2 separate regions of the Homo sapiens genome follow, and region 2 is linked to region 1. Evidence: promoter capture Hi-C in 16 types of primary human blood cells and fetal thymus (Javierre and others, 2016). All regions are on one chromosome and are shown on one strand. Each heading gives the region's core, a stretch centred on a gene start or on the middle of the fragment in contact. The rest is flanking DNA. Distances are from core to core; before and after follow the strand shown. Region 1 holds the start of ARF5 (ARF GTPase 5). Region 2 holds the start of CALU (calumenin).

Region 1 (7,259 bases), core at 1,811-4,310:
GCGAAAGCGGCCGCCCGGTCCCAGGCCCGGAGGGCTGGGGCGGATTCTACCCCGGAGGCGGGGCGACACTGGCACCAGAGGTGCGCACTGCCAGGGCTCGTTAGCGCTGGCCCAGAAGCCGCTCCGCACTCTCCGCTCGTCTGGGCCACAGCAGCCCGGGCCGGCCCCCTCGGCCCACGTCGGCCAGAGGGTTACGCTGAGCTCGGTCCCATCACGACATCCTAACTAAAGCTGCCTGCCGACAACGGCGCTTCCGTGTCCGCTGGAAGTGACGTCAGCGAGGCGCCGCAGGCTCCGCCCCCAGTGGGCCCAAGGTAGGCGGGGCCAAGTCGGCCGGTGGGTGGGCGCGGCCTGTTGAGAACGCAGTGGGGCCGCGAGCGGCAAAAAACAGGCTTGGGAAAGGCGAAGCCAGCAAAGTCGAAGACACCAGAGTGGCACCGGTTTTGTGAGAGCGCCCAAGCTTGACCTCGGGCTACGCTCAGCGAGCGACAGAGCAACGTCGCACTGCATTCTTACCAAACACCCAGGTGAACGACGCATCCAACGATTTGGGAGCTCAGGACCCATGGTCCCTAAAAGGCAACAATTAAGACTCCCATTTAGACCACGAAAACTGCAGTCCTCTATAGCACAGTGCTTGGTACCTAGTAGGCATACAGCCTAATAGTACCCTTCCTTAGTTCTGCTGAGTTGATTCCACAAATATTTACGGAGGGCACTCTATAGCCATGTCTATCCTGAGTGCCAGCTATATACCAGGAGCTCACAAGAGTTTTGCTATTTAGTCTTTACAGTAATTCTTGTAAGCACTATACTCATTAGCACTATTTTACAGATATGAAAACATGAGGCAGAAAGGTTATACGTAACATGCCCAAGGTCACACAGCTAGTAAGTTTAGGAGTTCTAATCAGTCTGATTCTCAACGTATCACGTGCTGTGCCAGATGGTAACACCATTAAGAGACACGACCTTGCCCTCAGGGAGCTCGCAATCTAGTGAGGAACCAGACATACAAATATGTCCTGCTATCACACCAGTATGTCTGGGTATATTCAAAGTGGTATGAAAGTTAAGAGGAAAGAGGCCTGTCTAGGTGAGGCATGGAAGGCTCTTGGGAATAATACTTTGGGATTTGAAGGATGAGTCGTGATTGTCCACCTAACCAGAGATCAGGGAAACTAGCATTCCAGGCAGGTGGAAAAAAATGCAAAGACCTGTAGGGTATCGGAGTTTGACTCACCCAGAAAGCATTCAGTAGCTTAGGGTATGTGAAGGAGGTGACAACAGAGGGGCTGGCACAATAGGTAGGGACCCAACTTATGGCATTTAAATTTTATCTTGGGTTATAGTAAGGCCCTAATGGATTTTAATCTGAAAAGTGGGATGTCATCAAGACTTGTATGACATGTTGGAGGGAACAAGGGGCAGGAAACCTGTGAGGAGACTTTCAGTCATGGGGAACAGAAGGTAGTGACAACAGAGATGGAAGCAAAGAGGCTGATAAAAGAGCTAAATGTAGAATTGACCTAACTTGGTGAACACTAGTTCTGTTATTATATTGGAACTCTCTAAAATGTACTCTTCAGCCTCGTAAAAGCCTTCTTAGGGATGCAAGTCTATGACTGAAGAGAAAAGGAAAGTCATTCACTCACTCATACCTGTTTCCCAAAGTCTGTCCTTGTTACAGACTTTGCAGATCAGGATGGGGCAGGCCCTGGAGGTCTGTTCAGACCCCGTTTCTCAGTGGCCCAAATAACATCAAGCTGTATTATACATAACATTCAGTCACATTATCAAATCATTTTAAGATTCACCATAACCCCTTAAGTTAGAACAAGTCTCATTTTATAGATGATGAAATAACGGAAGAGTTATGAGGAGTGCTGAAGCCAAATCCTCAAGAAATGGCAGAATTAAGATTTGAACTAAAGCCTGAAATCACGTGCTGGCAAGTGGTGGGTGCTCAGTAAATATCTGCTGAAAAAGCAAATGAATGAGTGAAGGTTTTTTTATTCCCAGCTCAGTTTACCTCGAGTCCATAAACAATTGATCCTAGAAGCCCACTGGGAATCCAGAGTAGACATAACACCTACCCTCGCTCCATTGAGAATCTATCAGTCCAGTTCAACTGAACAAGCATTTGTTAGGCCTAATAATGCCTGGCAATGAGCCAGTCTCCACCGCAGAAGAATTTCATTCCTATTTTGCTATTCTCCTCTCAGATGTTAAAATGAGGCAGGGAAATGACATGTGAAGCTCTTTGGGTCTACGGAGTCAAGATCTTCACAAAATCCTGAATGGATGTGCAAGAATAAGCCAGGTCCACAAGTCTGTGGCAAAGTGAGGAACTTCGGCAAAGCGGCCAGCGCCTGGACTGAGAGGCGGGGCCCGCAGGGCGATCCAAACGAAGGTGGACTTCTCCAACAGCCCAGGAGTGGGTCTGTGACCCCGCCGCCCAAGGCCGGGAATCTTACACTGGTTCTGCGGATTGGGAATTAGGAAGTAGGCGTTTTGAGGAACCATGGAAGCTAGCTAGCACTCGGGCACCTTCCCCTACCTCCCGCGCACTCTTCACACGACCACCTACTACGCGCAAGTCCCTCGGTGGAAGATGAGGCAGTAAAGGGAGGACCAAGACCCCTAATCGCAGCTTCCACTCCCCAAAGGAGAGTGGTGCACACGTTCAGTGCTACTGGTTCCCAAGGGCTAAAACCGGAGCCCCTAGGGGCCTGGACGCAACAAACCAAAGCCCAGCGGCCGGCCACTGAAAATGGGGGCAGGGGCCGCTGCGGAGCGATGAATCCTTTCCTCAGCCGCGCTCGGGCTGCCGGTTCGGCGGCCACAGGCCTGGCAGGCGCGTTAGAGACCTAGACCCGTTCCCAAGTAAGGGCCGCACGGGACCCAGGCCAGCAGCGGCAACTCGCGGAGCTTCAGCTCCCCTAGGAGCCAGAGCCGGGGGAGGCGGGGCCGAGAGCCGGGGGCGGGGCCCGGACGGGGGCGGGCCCGCGGTGACGTCGGGAGGGCAGCGACGCGCGGAGGCGGCGGCGGAGCCTCCTCCTGCTGCTGCTGCGCCCCATCCCCCCGCGGCCGGCCAGTTCCAGCCCGCACCCCGCGTCGGTGCCCGCGCCCCTCCCCGGGCCCCGCCATGGGCCTCACCGTGTCCGCGCTCTTTTCGCGGATCTTCGGGAAGAAGCAGATGCGGATTCTCATGGGTGAGGCAGATCGAGCGCGCGGCCCGGACCGGGGCGCCGGCCCCGGCGCAGCCCTTCCGCCCCCGCGTCCCTCCAGCCCCGCTCACCTGGGTCTCTGGCCCCGAGTCACCCACCTCATAACGCCCCGGGGCCTCTGCTCTCGGGCGGGTCCCGGTCTGCATCGCCGACCCCGGGGCCTGACACCCGGAGCTGCGGGCCTGGGTGGGGTGAAGCTCCCTCCGCCCCAGCCCGGCTGGTAAGAAGGGAGGATTCCGCCCTTGGAGACGACTTTTAAAACGAGCGCGGCCTACCTCCCGTGCCCCTTGCCTCCCAGTCCTCTCCCGCTCCGCGCCCTCTTTGGAGTTGGCTCACGCCACCCGACTGCCCTCCAGGCCTCAAAGGTAGATAACGACGCGCACCTGGAGGCGCTCCCGCTCTCCGCCCCAGTCACCATCAGCTGTTGTGGCCTCTCCCTTTCCCTGGTCTCTAGGGGGCTCCCTCGCTCCCATCTCCATCCCTGTGCCCCTTTCCGTTGCAGTTGGCTTGGATGCGGCTGGCAAGACCACAATCCTGTACAAACTGAAGTTGGGGGAGATTGTCACCACCATCCCAACCATAGGTGAGCCCGGGGACGAAGCAGGGAGCGGGAGCGCCGCGGCGGGCCCTCGCGGGGTCTGCTCCCAGTTCTGCCACTTTTCTGGAGCTGACCCTGACACCAGATACAGCTATTTGAGAAGTGGGTCAGGGTATCTCTACGTGGATACCGGAGGCAGGGTGGATGTGACCTAGCCCCGCCCTGTTGACCGCCAGTTCTGGGGTTCTGTTCCCCTGGGCCTTGATCATTGCCTTCTGGTTTTGTGTCCCTGCTGAAATCTAAGTAGTTTTAGTGAGTTCCTTTCTTTCAGGAGTTTTCTCATCTTTTTTTTCCAATTATCTGCAGGCTTCAATGTAGAAACAGTGGAATATAAGAACATCTGTTTCACAGTCTGGGACGTGGGAGGCCAGGACAAGATTCGGCCTCTGTGGCGGCACTACTTCCAGAACACTCAGGTGGAGTGTTGGGAGGGGACTTTCTAACCCCACGGGAAAAGGTGTTAGGGCTGGGAGAACAGAATTGTTGGCCTAGGCTGGGCCCCCAGGCCAAGGAAAAAACCCTTCCCCACTTCTACCCCTTCTGTTTGGCTATCCCCTACTCACTCTTCAGAACTCACCTTAGTCTTCCCCAGCTTGGACTTCTCTTTAGAAGCAGGATTCTGGGACCAGGCTGCCTGATTTAGCCCTCATAACATGTCTTTATTTCCTTGCACATCTTTGGATAAACTACTTCCTCTTTGCAGTGGGGTCTCTAGTTTGTGCCATGACTCCTGTAGAGCTTCTATAGAGTTCTGTAAACTTCTGTAGAGTTTACTAGATGAGAAGGATTGACACAATTACAAATGGGAAGAAAACAGAAAGGGCCACACTACGGTATGTCCCAGGCAGAAGTGATTGCTTCTCCTTTCTTCCTTCCTTCCTGCCCAGGGCCTCATCTTTGTGGTGGACAGTAATGACCGGGAGCGGGTCCAAGAATCTGCTGATGAACTCCAGAAGATGGTGAGTACCCAGAGCCCTGGGAACTGAGCCCTCAGCTTGGGGACAGAGTGATCTCTGTAGTGGTATAGAAGTCAGGGAGCCCCCAACAGGCATTGAAGACCAGGAATATAAGTTTTTCTTTGTGGACAGACACATTGTGTATCTCACCCTGTTTTGGATGGGAGTGACTTTTTCACTTTTTCTGTGCATTGTCTTGTCTTTTTTTTTTTTTGAAATGGGAGTTTTGCTGTTGTTGCCCAGGCTGGAGTGCAATGGTGCAATCTCGGCTCACTGCAACCTCCGTCTCCCGGGTTCAAGCAATTCTCCTGCCTCAGCCTCCCAAGTAGCTGGGATTACAGGCGCCCGCTGCCATGCCCAGTTAATTTTTGTATTTTTAGTAGAGACGGGGTTTCACCATGTTGGCCAGGCTGGTCTTGAACCCCCAACCTCAGGTGATCCACCCGTCTTGGTCTCCCAAAGTGCTGGGATTACAGGAGTGAGCCACTGCGCCCGGCCGCATTCTCATGTCTTTACATCTGAGTCTGAGAAGTTGTGGGAGAGATGGGACTTATATGTGGCAAAGAGAAACATTTTACATTCCTGCCTTTTCCATTTGGAAATGTTGTCATTTTGCCTAGGCAAGTACTCAAATTAGGAAAAGGTCTTTCTTTTCTGGACTTATGGGCTCAGGTCACCTCAAGCTCATTTACAACTATGTCTTGTCTTCAACGGCAGACTGCACAATACTTTTTTTTTCCAATCAAGATGCTAGGAGGTAGAAAGGGAATTCCCCAACACAGTAGAGGAGACGCAGCCTGGGTCCCACCTTCTCTTCTCCTCTCTCAGCTGCAGGAGGACGAGCTGCGGGATGCAGTGCTGCTGGTATTTGCCAACAAGCAGGACATGCCCAACGCCATGCCCGTGAGCGAGCTGACTGACAAGCTGGGGCTACAGCACTTACGCAGCCGCACGGTAGGGGTCCTGCCCACCTGGTGCTGAATCCTGCCTCTTGAGGGAAGCTGCAGGCTGGGACAGAGATATAAAGGCATTCCTTTTGTTCCTGGTTGCTGACCTCTTTCTTTCCTTTTCCCCACAGTGGTATGTCCAGGCCACCTGTGCCACCCAAGGCACAGGTCTGTACGATGGTCTGGACTGGCTGTCCCACGAGCTGTCAAAGCGCTAACCAGCCAGGGGCAGGCCCCTGATGCCCGGAAGCTCCTGCGTGCATCCCCGGGATGACCAGACTCCCGGACTCCTCAGGCAGTGCCCTTTCCTCCCACTTTTCCTCCCCCATAGCCACAGGCCTCTGCTCCTGCTCCTGCCTGCATGTTCTCTCTGTTGTTGGAGCCTGGAGCCTTGCTCTCTGGGCACAGAGGGGTCCACTCTCCTGCCTGCTGGGACCTATGGAAGGGGCTTCCTGGCCAAGGCCCCCTCTTCCAGAGGAGGAGCAGGGATCTGGGTTTCCTTTTTTTTTTCTGTTTTGGGTGTACTCTAGGGGCCAGGTTGGGAGGGGGAAGGTGAGGGCTTCGGGTGGTGCTATAATGTGGCACTGGATCTTGAGTAATAAATTTGCTGTGGTTTGTACACGGTGTTGTCTGTAGCCTGCAAAGGAGAGGCTAGGTTACTGGGTACCAAGAGACAACGTGGGAGAGGATCAAAGCAGCTAAGGCTGCAGGGCAACCCCACCCACACATACCCTCAGCTCAGCTTCTCCCTCCTTATTCTTGGGCTGGAAATACTGTAGGGTTTACAGTGGTGCAAATCTCATTCCTTCCCAGCTCCAAGGAGCCTTTGCTGAAGATTACAGGATCTCCCTTCATAGTTCCATGAACCACGTAATTGTTTCCCATCATTCTCGTAGCTACTTAGAGCCGTTCTTAATGTTTGCCTTACACATTAAAATTAGAGGGGGAGAGAATGTGCGTTAATAATACGAATCCTGAGGTACATTTCAGAAAATGTGATTCATCAGGACTAGTCTGATGCCCAACAATATGCATCTTTAAAATTACCCAGAGGAGGCCGGGCGCAGTGGCTCACGCTTGTAATCCCAGCACTCTGGGAGGCTGAGGCAGGCGGATCACGAGGTCAGAAGATCGAGACCACGGTGAAACCCCATCTCTACTAGAAAAAAAAAAATACAAAAAATTATCCAGGCGTGGTGGCAGGCACCTGTAGCCCCAGCTACTCAGGAGGCTGAGGCAGGAGAATGGTGTGAACCTGGGAGGCGGAGCTTGCAGTGAGCTGAGATCGTGCCACTGCACTCCAGCCTGGGTGACAGGGTGAGACTCCGTCTCAAAATAAATAAATAAATTAAATAAATAAATAAAATTACCCAGGGAATTCTGCCACTAATAGTCTATTACCCTTATTTTATAAAACATCGGTGGGGTCTGGGGCTTGTAGTTCCTTGCTGCACACCACTGAGACTCTTGCTACTTGGGAAGACCCCTCCTATGGGGAATAGGAAAGCAGGTATAAGGAACCACGGGT
Region 2 (7,259 bases), core at 2,123-4,622, 1.2 Mb after region 1:
AGTTCATTGCAGCCTCAACCTCCTGGGCTCAAGCAACTAGCTTGAACTACATGTGTGTGCCACCACACCCAGCTAATTTTTAGTTTTTGTTTTTTTGTAGAGATAGGGGGAGGAAGGGTCTCGTTATTTTGCCCAGGCTGGTCTCAAACTCCTGGCCTCAAGTGATCCTTAAGGAGGTATTTTAAAAACTGTTTTCGAAATAATGCCTCCTGAGGTAGCCTGTTTTATTGTTAATACCCATTAGATGGCTTCCCTGTAGGCACAAGCTTAGAAACTTTCCCAGGAAGACCCACAGTTCCCACTGTCTTCAGTTCAGGTTCCTCAAATTGACAAGATCTTCCATTACCTCTCCAAACTTACTATCCATGCTTTTCTTTCATTGTTTCCCCCCACCCCTTTTTTTAACCTTCCTCATTTGCTACCTGGCCTGAGAATTTACCTCCCACTCTGCCCTCCACTTGTCCTTATTCCTATTACTCTTCTTGCTGAATAGTCCATTTGGGACTTCCTTAGTCCAGCCTTAGTCATATCTTCCTCTGAAGCCTTCCCTGACTACCACCAAGGGTCACTGACACTCCTTTGAATGCCAGAAGGATTAGTTGTAAACCTTTCACGTTGACAGTAACTAGCTTGCTTTCATGAGCTTAACTGTTTCATGAGTTTACAACTTGTCTCAATTTGATTTTAAACTACAGAGGCTTTATGTGCTAAGAATGCCACAGGTTTACATTCCATTTGTGTTGAAGCTATAGTAGCCTTTATTTGATATTTGTTTTAATTTCATGACATGAAATTAAATTTTCAGGGACATGCAACGGGTTCGGCCCATTCCCTTCACTTAACATTACTGAGCTGGGCAGTAAGCTCAGAGTTGCAGATATAAAGATGAATAGACAGATACCTACCCAGGAGCTTACTCTAGAAGAGGACAGATGGATAAGCTACATTTTATAGCAGAATTTGGCAAAGTGTACTGAAGCTATAAACAGCTATGATGGTAAATAAGGTAAGAATTATGCTTAGTGAGGTCAGGGAAGGCTTCTAGAGCTAACATCTGAACTGGGACTTCTATTGGCAAGGCAGAAAATCAGGAAAACGCACTTATTCCTGGCAGAGGAAGCCTCTTGATCAAAAATCTTAAGAGATGAAAAAGGACCGGTTGTTAGGAAACAGATGATGGTGCCCAGAGCGCAAGATGAGGGGGAGTGTTGGGAGATGGAGCTAAAAGATACACTGGTGCCAAAGACTGAAGAGCCTCCTGTAGATAGCGCAGGGCGCAGCGCTGAAGGGAAAGAAAAAGTTGGGATTGTTCAATAAAGTTGGTGACTGATTCAGTCGGATTAATTCCGCCCTGGTGGTCTTGTGGGAATGAAGATAACTAGCAGGATAGTCTAAGAAGCCCTGTGGAAGCAGAGTCATGAGCTGTGAATGGGGACGTGGCGGCCACACGGCCGCGCCCACGCCACCCGCAGTACGGGGCTGGGGCTGGGGCTGGGGCTGGAGCCCGCCGTCCCAACAATCCCGGGGACGAGAGTTGGGCGGGAATCCGCTCCACGCAACTCGGCGCGGTCCCGGGGACGTGGCGCTTTCCAGCCAATCCCGGCTATGCGATTGTTAGACCAATGGCTACTCGGGGACGCTATGCGACAGCGGCGGGTTTGCTGATGATTGGTCGGGAGGCCGCCGGCGAGGCGGATGAGGGCGGGGTGCGGACCCGCTTCCGGTTGGGCGGTGCTTGCGCGCGTGAGCTGAGCCGGTGGGTGAGCGGCGGCCACGGCATCCTGTGCTGTGGGGGCTACGAGGAAAGGTAAGTACGGTGATGCCCAGCCCCTTCACCACTGCCTCATCTTTATTCGCTTTCTTTCTGTCCCCGGTCTTGTTCTTGGCGCGGCAGGGGACTGCCTCACTCGGTGCCGCTGTCTCTGCTGGCGCCCGGGTCCCAGGCCTGATGCTGCTGGAGATCCCGGGACCCTCTGTGTGCAGCCTGGGATGGAGGCCGCCGCCCGTCTTACCGCGCGCTCTGGGAAGGGGGCTGGTCCGGTGGAACTCTGTCCCGTTGGGTACTGTTCTGTGCCTGGTTTGCTGCGTCCTGGTCCTCCATCTCTAGGTCACGCCACTCACCGAGTCTCTGGCACCAGAGGGTCATTTTTTGCCTCCGGAAGGTCGGAGGGCATTTGGATAGTGTTATTGTAAGAGTTCCTTGCCGCCTCCACTCACCATCCTGCTTGTATCTGCCAGCTCCGCCCCAAGGCCACATCCCGACAGTAGGGTGCATCTGCCAAGGTCGTGTTCACTCACCTAAAGGGTGCAGAAACAAGGGGGGAGAGAACGAGTGACGACACTAGGTGATATCTATGATTTTAAAGAAAAGCTGAATGTTTAGAGCTTCCATATTTGGCTACGTACTTCAGTTAGCGACGGAAAATAGTTTTTAAAGCTTTATTGGGGAATTAATTTTTGTTACGTTTTTTGTTGCTTCTAGCCCCATATCCTACTGATTTTTAGCATGCTGCGGTCAGAAATAAACTTAATTCCCTATAGCTGCCGCGATTAAGCGTAGAGTGGCTTGCAGTTTCAAAAGCTGCTTTTGCATCAAGGCCCAAGCTCCGTGGGTCTCCTGCTAAAACTTTTGAGCCTGTGATCTGAATTCCTAAGTGTATAAAATTCTAGAATAGTGTCTTCGAGAATTGAGTTGCGTTCATTTTCTGGTGTGGACCATGAAGTCAACGTTAATGAATTGGGAATAAGGTGGCTTCTAGTTGTTTTTTGTTCTAGTAGCTTATTCAGCTTGGAGGCAGAGAACCTTGGAATCTCTGTTAAATTAGTCTGCCATAGAATGGAACTTGACACAAGACAAATGCAAGTTTGACCTCACTCAGTAGATTTAATTAACCAAATACCAAACGACAGTAATCACTGAAGAATTTATATAGTATAATCCAAATGAGGGACCAGATATAACCTCTAAGTTGTATTTGTCAAGAAAATGAGTTTGCCAAGACCTAATCTGAGGTTTTACTGTGATTGGGGGGTGGGGGGGTTCCAATAGGATTCTTTTGAGAATCACAAGTAGGAAAGCCATGAGCTCACAAAAATGTATTGAGTATGCCTGAGTGAATAGTACTCAATATAGCTTTGAAACCAACTCATTGTCACTCTCAATGTAATCATTGTTTGTTTTCATTCATCCAGTGATGTGTCAAGAAGTACTTATTGATAGCACTTAATATCCATTAGAGCAGTATTGGGATCTATATATTGGTGTTATTTTTTAAAATTTATTTATTTTAGAGTTGAGGGTCTCAGTATGTTGACCAGGTGGAGCCTTGAACTCCCATGCTCAAGCAGTCCTCCTGCCTCAGCCTCCCAAGTAGCTGAGACTAGAGGTATATAACACCACACCCTAGTACATTGGTGTTAACACAGATTTTCTGTAACGTAGGTATACCAGGGATATTGAAAGGACAGAGGTGTAGCCAAGGATAGCCACTGGAAATGCTAGCTAGGCCACAAGGCCCTAGATTCTCACTCTCTGAACTCTTAAGTATGGATGTTGCTGATGCAGTAATTTATGTATTAGAGTTAAGACAGCTGAAATAACACTTTTGCCTGTTCCTGGCTGATTGCCAGATCCAGTAAACGGAATTGGAAGTTGGAGAACACAGGCAGGCAGGAACCACATTGCTGCCAAGTACCGCCCAATTAATTCAGTAAGATGTATTAATCCAGTAAAATGTATTGGTATCAAAAAAGTGCAAGACAATGTATTAGGGACAATATAGGGGTAATAATTTGTATTAGAATGATATGTAGACATTCTTCCAGAAATGTCGATTCTAAAGGGGAGCTAAGGAGACAACTTAAGGTAACCTATGGTCATTGTTTTTGAGTGGTTCAGACGAGTTTTATAGAAGTTTAGATTGGATCATACCCTTTTTGTCCAAAAAGAGAAAAAGATAACAGATCACTTCCAGCTAGAGTGATCATAGTAGGTAGGTCTTCTAGGATCTTAAATTTATTTATAGACATCTGGCACTGAAGGAAGTTTGAGCTAAAATAACTACCAAATTCTCAACAGTGTCACGCATGTTACACATGCACAGCAAAATTACAACTAGAAACCAAGGCTCCTATCCCTACATTTCAAATAGCATTTCTCTCACAATTGATTATGTATTAAGGCTTGTCAACGAAAAGGAAACTTTTTTCTCTCAGAATTTCTAGAACTTTTTTCTTTAAAAAGTTTTTTATTCTGTAGCCAGAAAAATTTAAAGTTTGTGCTGGGTTGCTTTGGTTATAGAACTAATGAAGCTTGAGTAATAGTTTCAGACATTCTCAGGGTTTTTCTTCTGCAGCCAGATTTTACACTTCTATTATCTCAGCTGTCTTATAAATGTATTCCCTCCATCACACAATATAATTAGAATGTATTGATGAACAGATGTAACTTCATCACTAGAGAGACGTTAAATAAATTATGTGTTGGTATCATGACTTTTATCAAATCATGAAGGATGCCATCACTTTTATGTGATAGTCCATTGGTATAGTACTAAAGTTTGTAAGTAAAGAATGTCAGATAGATAACAAGATAACTTCATTTTCGAGATCTCATAACCTGGGCCTTAGTATAGTTAAATTGCTATCAGTCTGTTCCCTGTAATCTCCAATTGAAGTAGACAGTTAAACAATGAGATCCTGCTTTTGCTGCGTTATGGAGAAATAAATGCCTTTTCTGGTGAATATCCATCCAGCTCAGAGAACTGGAATTTTACTACCACACCCATTTCTCCCAATTGTTAACATTGAGCAATGGGTCTTTGGTCAACCATAATAACTGTTGGATCACTCAGTGTTAACGTTCTTGTGAAGTTGAATTTAAACATCTAAATTTCCCTGAAACAATTTAAGTATTCTGTGACCAATGGCACTTTACCAAAATTGAAAGTTTGGGCCATGTATTGCTCGCAATACTGGTCCAATGGATACACTATGGACACTAAGGACAAAAACTTCCTTGAAAGCTCTAAGTTCTTACCTGAAGGGTGGGGTAGGGAGAAGTGATAAGAATTTAGAGCTTTTAAGGACATTTTTGGATGGATCGAAGAAACCAATTCTTAAGACTCATTATTATTAAAATCACACTTAACCCAGTTAGGCTTTTCTCTTTATAAATTACTGGAACGATTCATGAAAACAACTTTATAGAAGACCATTATTGGTGACATACTAATACTACAAAAGGATGATAGCTACTGGATATATTTTCTGTTCTAATCTTTTGGTTTGTGTCTAACATGCTGTCCAATAAAAATATAATACAAGCCACATATGTAATTTTAAATTTTCAGGTGAAAATCTAAAACAGGTGAAAGTAATTTTAATAATGTTTAATCTAATACATATAAAATACCATTCTTTCAATATGAAATGTAACACTTATACCAATCGCAATTCACACTAGCCACATTTCAAGTGCTTAGTAGTCACATGTGGCTAGTGGCTACTGTACTGGGCAGTACAGGCCTAGATTTTTTTTTTTTCCCAAGAAAAAAATATTAGATGTTACCCTTCGTGGAAGAGGGACAGAATTTTAGAGAGAGAAACTCATTTGAGAAATGGGAGGTGGGGAAATTCAGTTTTCACAACCATTGGTTTACTTTCTAGATCACATGATAAAAGCTCATACAGCTAAGTCTTTTGTTTATGTGTATCATATTTTTCCTAATATTATGTTGTCCATTATGTCCATAGTATATCCATTGGACCAGTATTGTGATCAGTATGTATGGCCCAATGGATACACAAAGATCTTTCCAGCTGGAAGTGATCTGTACCTATTCCTCTAAACTTTTTTTTTACTTTTTGGACAAAAGTATCCAATTTAAACTTTTTTTTTTCTTTTTCTTTTTTTGAGACAGGGTCTTGTTCCCTCACCAAGGCTGGAGTGTGGTGGCATGATCATGACTCACTGTAACCTCGTGTCTCCGGGGCTCAGGCGATCCTCCCACTTCAGCTTCCCCGGTAGCTGGGACTATAGCTGCGCCACCACACCCAGCTAATTTTTTGTATTTTTGGTGGAGATGGGATTGCCTAGGCTGGTCTTGAACACCAGCATTCCATCCGCCTTGGCCCTCCAAAGTGCTGGGATTACAGGCTTGAGCCACTGCTGCTGGCCCAGTCTAAACTTTTATAAAGTGTTGAAGTGGGTGAGGAAAATGAGAAGGGCCATTAACTTTGTATCATTTGGTTTCAATTTGGTTGAAAAGACAAAGATGCTTCAGAAATGAAGTGTACTGGCTGGTCATGGTAGCTCACACCTGTAATCCCGACACTTTGGGAGGCCGAGACGGGAGAATCACTTGAGGTCAGGAGTTTGAGACCAACCTGGACAACATGGTGAAACCCTGTATCTACTAAAAATACAAAAATTATTCGGGCGTGGTAGACCATGCCTGTAATCCCAGCTATTGAGGAGGCTGAGGCAGGAGAATCACTTGAACCCAGGAGGTGGAGGTTGCAGTGAGCCAAGATCACACCACTGCACTCCATCCTGGGCAACAGAGACAGACTCAGTCTCAACAAAAGAAAACGAAGTGCACTAAAGTAGATTTTCAAATGCTGTGTATGAAGTTATTTTTTACTGTTCCTTTCACATCTTCCCACGTAAGATATCCTTTGTCTTAGATGTCCTTTGTTTCTGCTTGAACATACATGCTCCATACCAAAAACCATATGGTTTTAGATAAATCTAGTACAGTTTTTGGTATGGATGGTGTTTTTTGTTTTTAGTGTCTATATTCATAAAACAAGAGGGCTTTGTTAAAGTTTCTAATAGCCAGGAGTTGTTATATATGTGGGCACAAAGGACGTTTTGTTTTTTTTTAAGTAGAACTTCTTTAAAGTGCAGATTTTTCATTCCTCCCTGCAGAAAGATAAAGAAGTAAAGATGGACCATTGGCTTTGTCCATCTGGGTCCTTGATGACCGTTGTAGGCAGTTTCATCAATAGTAAGGAAGCCAGGTTTCAGGGTAGCATTGGACAGTGAGGAAGCAGAGGCAGCAGGGTAGAAACTGTGGGTGAGGGAAAGGGAGGAGCAAGCATGAAGGAACAGCACAGTCTGGGAAAGACTGTGGGTAGTGGAGACCTGAGAAGCACTGATTGACAGAATGGAGGAGCCTGTTTAAGGGATGAGATTGAAAGTTTATTCAGGAGAGGGGAAGGAAGGAGAAATGGGTGAGTGATAAAGCTAAATCACT

The links. Contacts are between HindIII fragments. The CHiCAGO score rates a contact against its expected background, and 5 or more counts as called.
Region 2: a fragment that was not itself captured here is called in contact with the fragment with the promoter of ARF5 in region 1 in 1 of 17 cell types (fetal thymus); the score reaches 6.7 in fetal thymus.

What each region holds. Positions count from the first base shown.
Region 1 is chr7:127,585,351-127,592,609 of GRCh38, forward strand. It overlaps ARF5 (ARF GTPase 5), which reads left to right and starts at 3,061. Exons shown (of 6, transcript NM_001662.4): 1 at 3,061-3,215; 2 at 3,733-3,813; 3 at 4,135-4,244; 4 at 4,716-4,787; 5 at 5,613-5,738; 6 at 5,863-6,350. The coding sequence starts at 3,149. The coding sequence ends at 5,949. It overlaps LOC105375490 (a long non-coding RNA gene), which reads right to left and starts at 4,496. Exons shown (of 5, transcript XR_007060511.1): 1 at 4,406-4,496. GCC1 (GRIP and coiled-coil domain containing 1) reads right to left here and starts at 246. Exons shown (of 2, transcript NM_024523.6): 1 at 1-246. LOC105375489 (a long non-coding RNA gene) reads right to left here and starts at 6,890. Exons shown (of 3, transcript XR_007060513.1): 1 at 6,779-6,890; 2 at 6,463-6,654; 3 at 4,519-4,601. RefSeq lists enhancers at 1-594, 1,882-2,508, 2,509-3,134, 3,135-3,761, 3,762-4,387 and 1 more and a silencer at 2,898-3,387. The HindIII fragment of the contact is 7,240 bases long and covers 459-7,259 here.
Region 2 is chr7:128,737,626-128,744,884 of GRCh38, forward strand. CALU (calumenin) reads left to right here and starts at 1,734. Exons shown (of 7, transcript NM_001219.5): 1 at 1,734-1,807. RefSeq lists silencers at 1,341-1,480, 1,551-1,690 and an enhancer at 1,971-2,070. The HindIII fragment of the contact is 1,874 bases long and covers 2,436-4,309 here.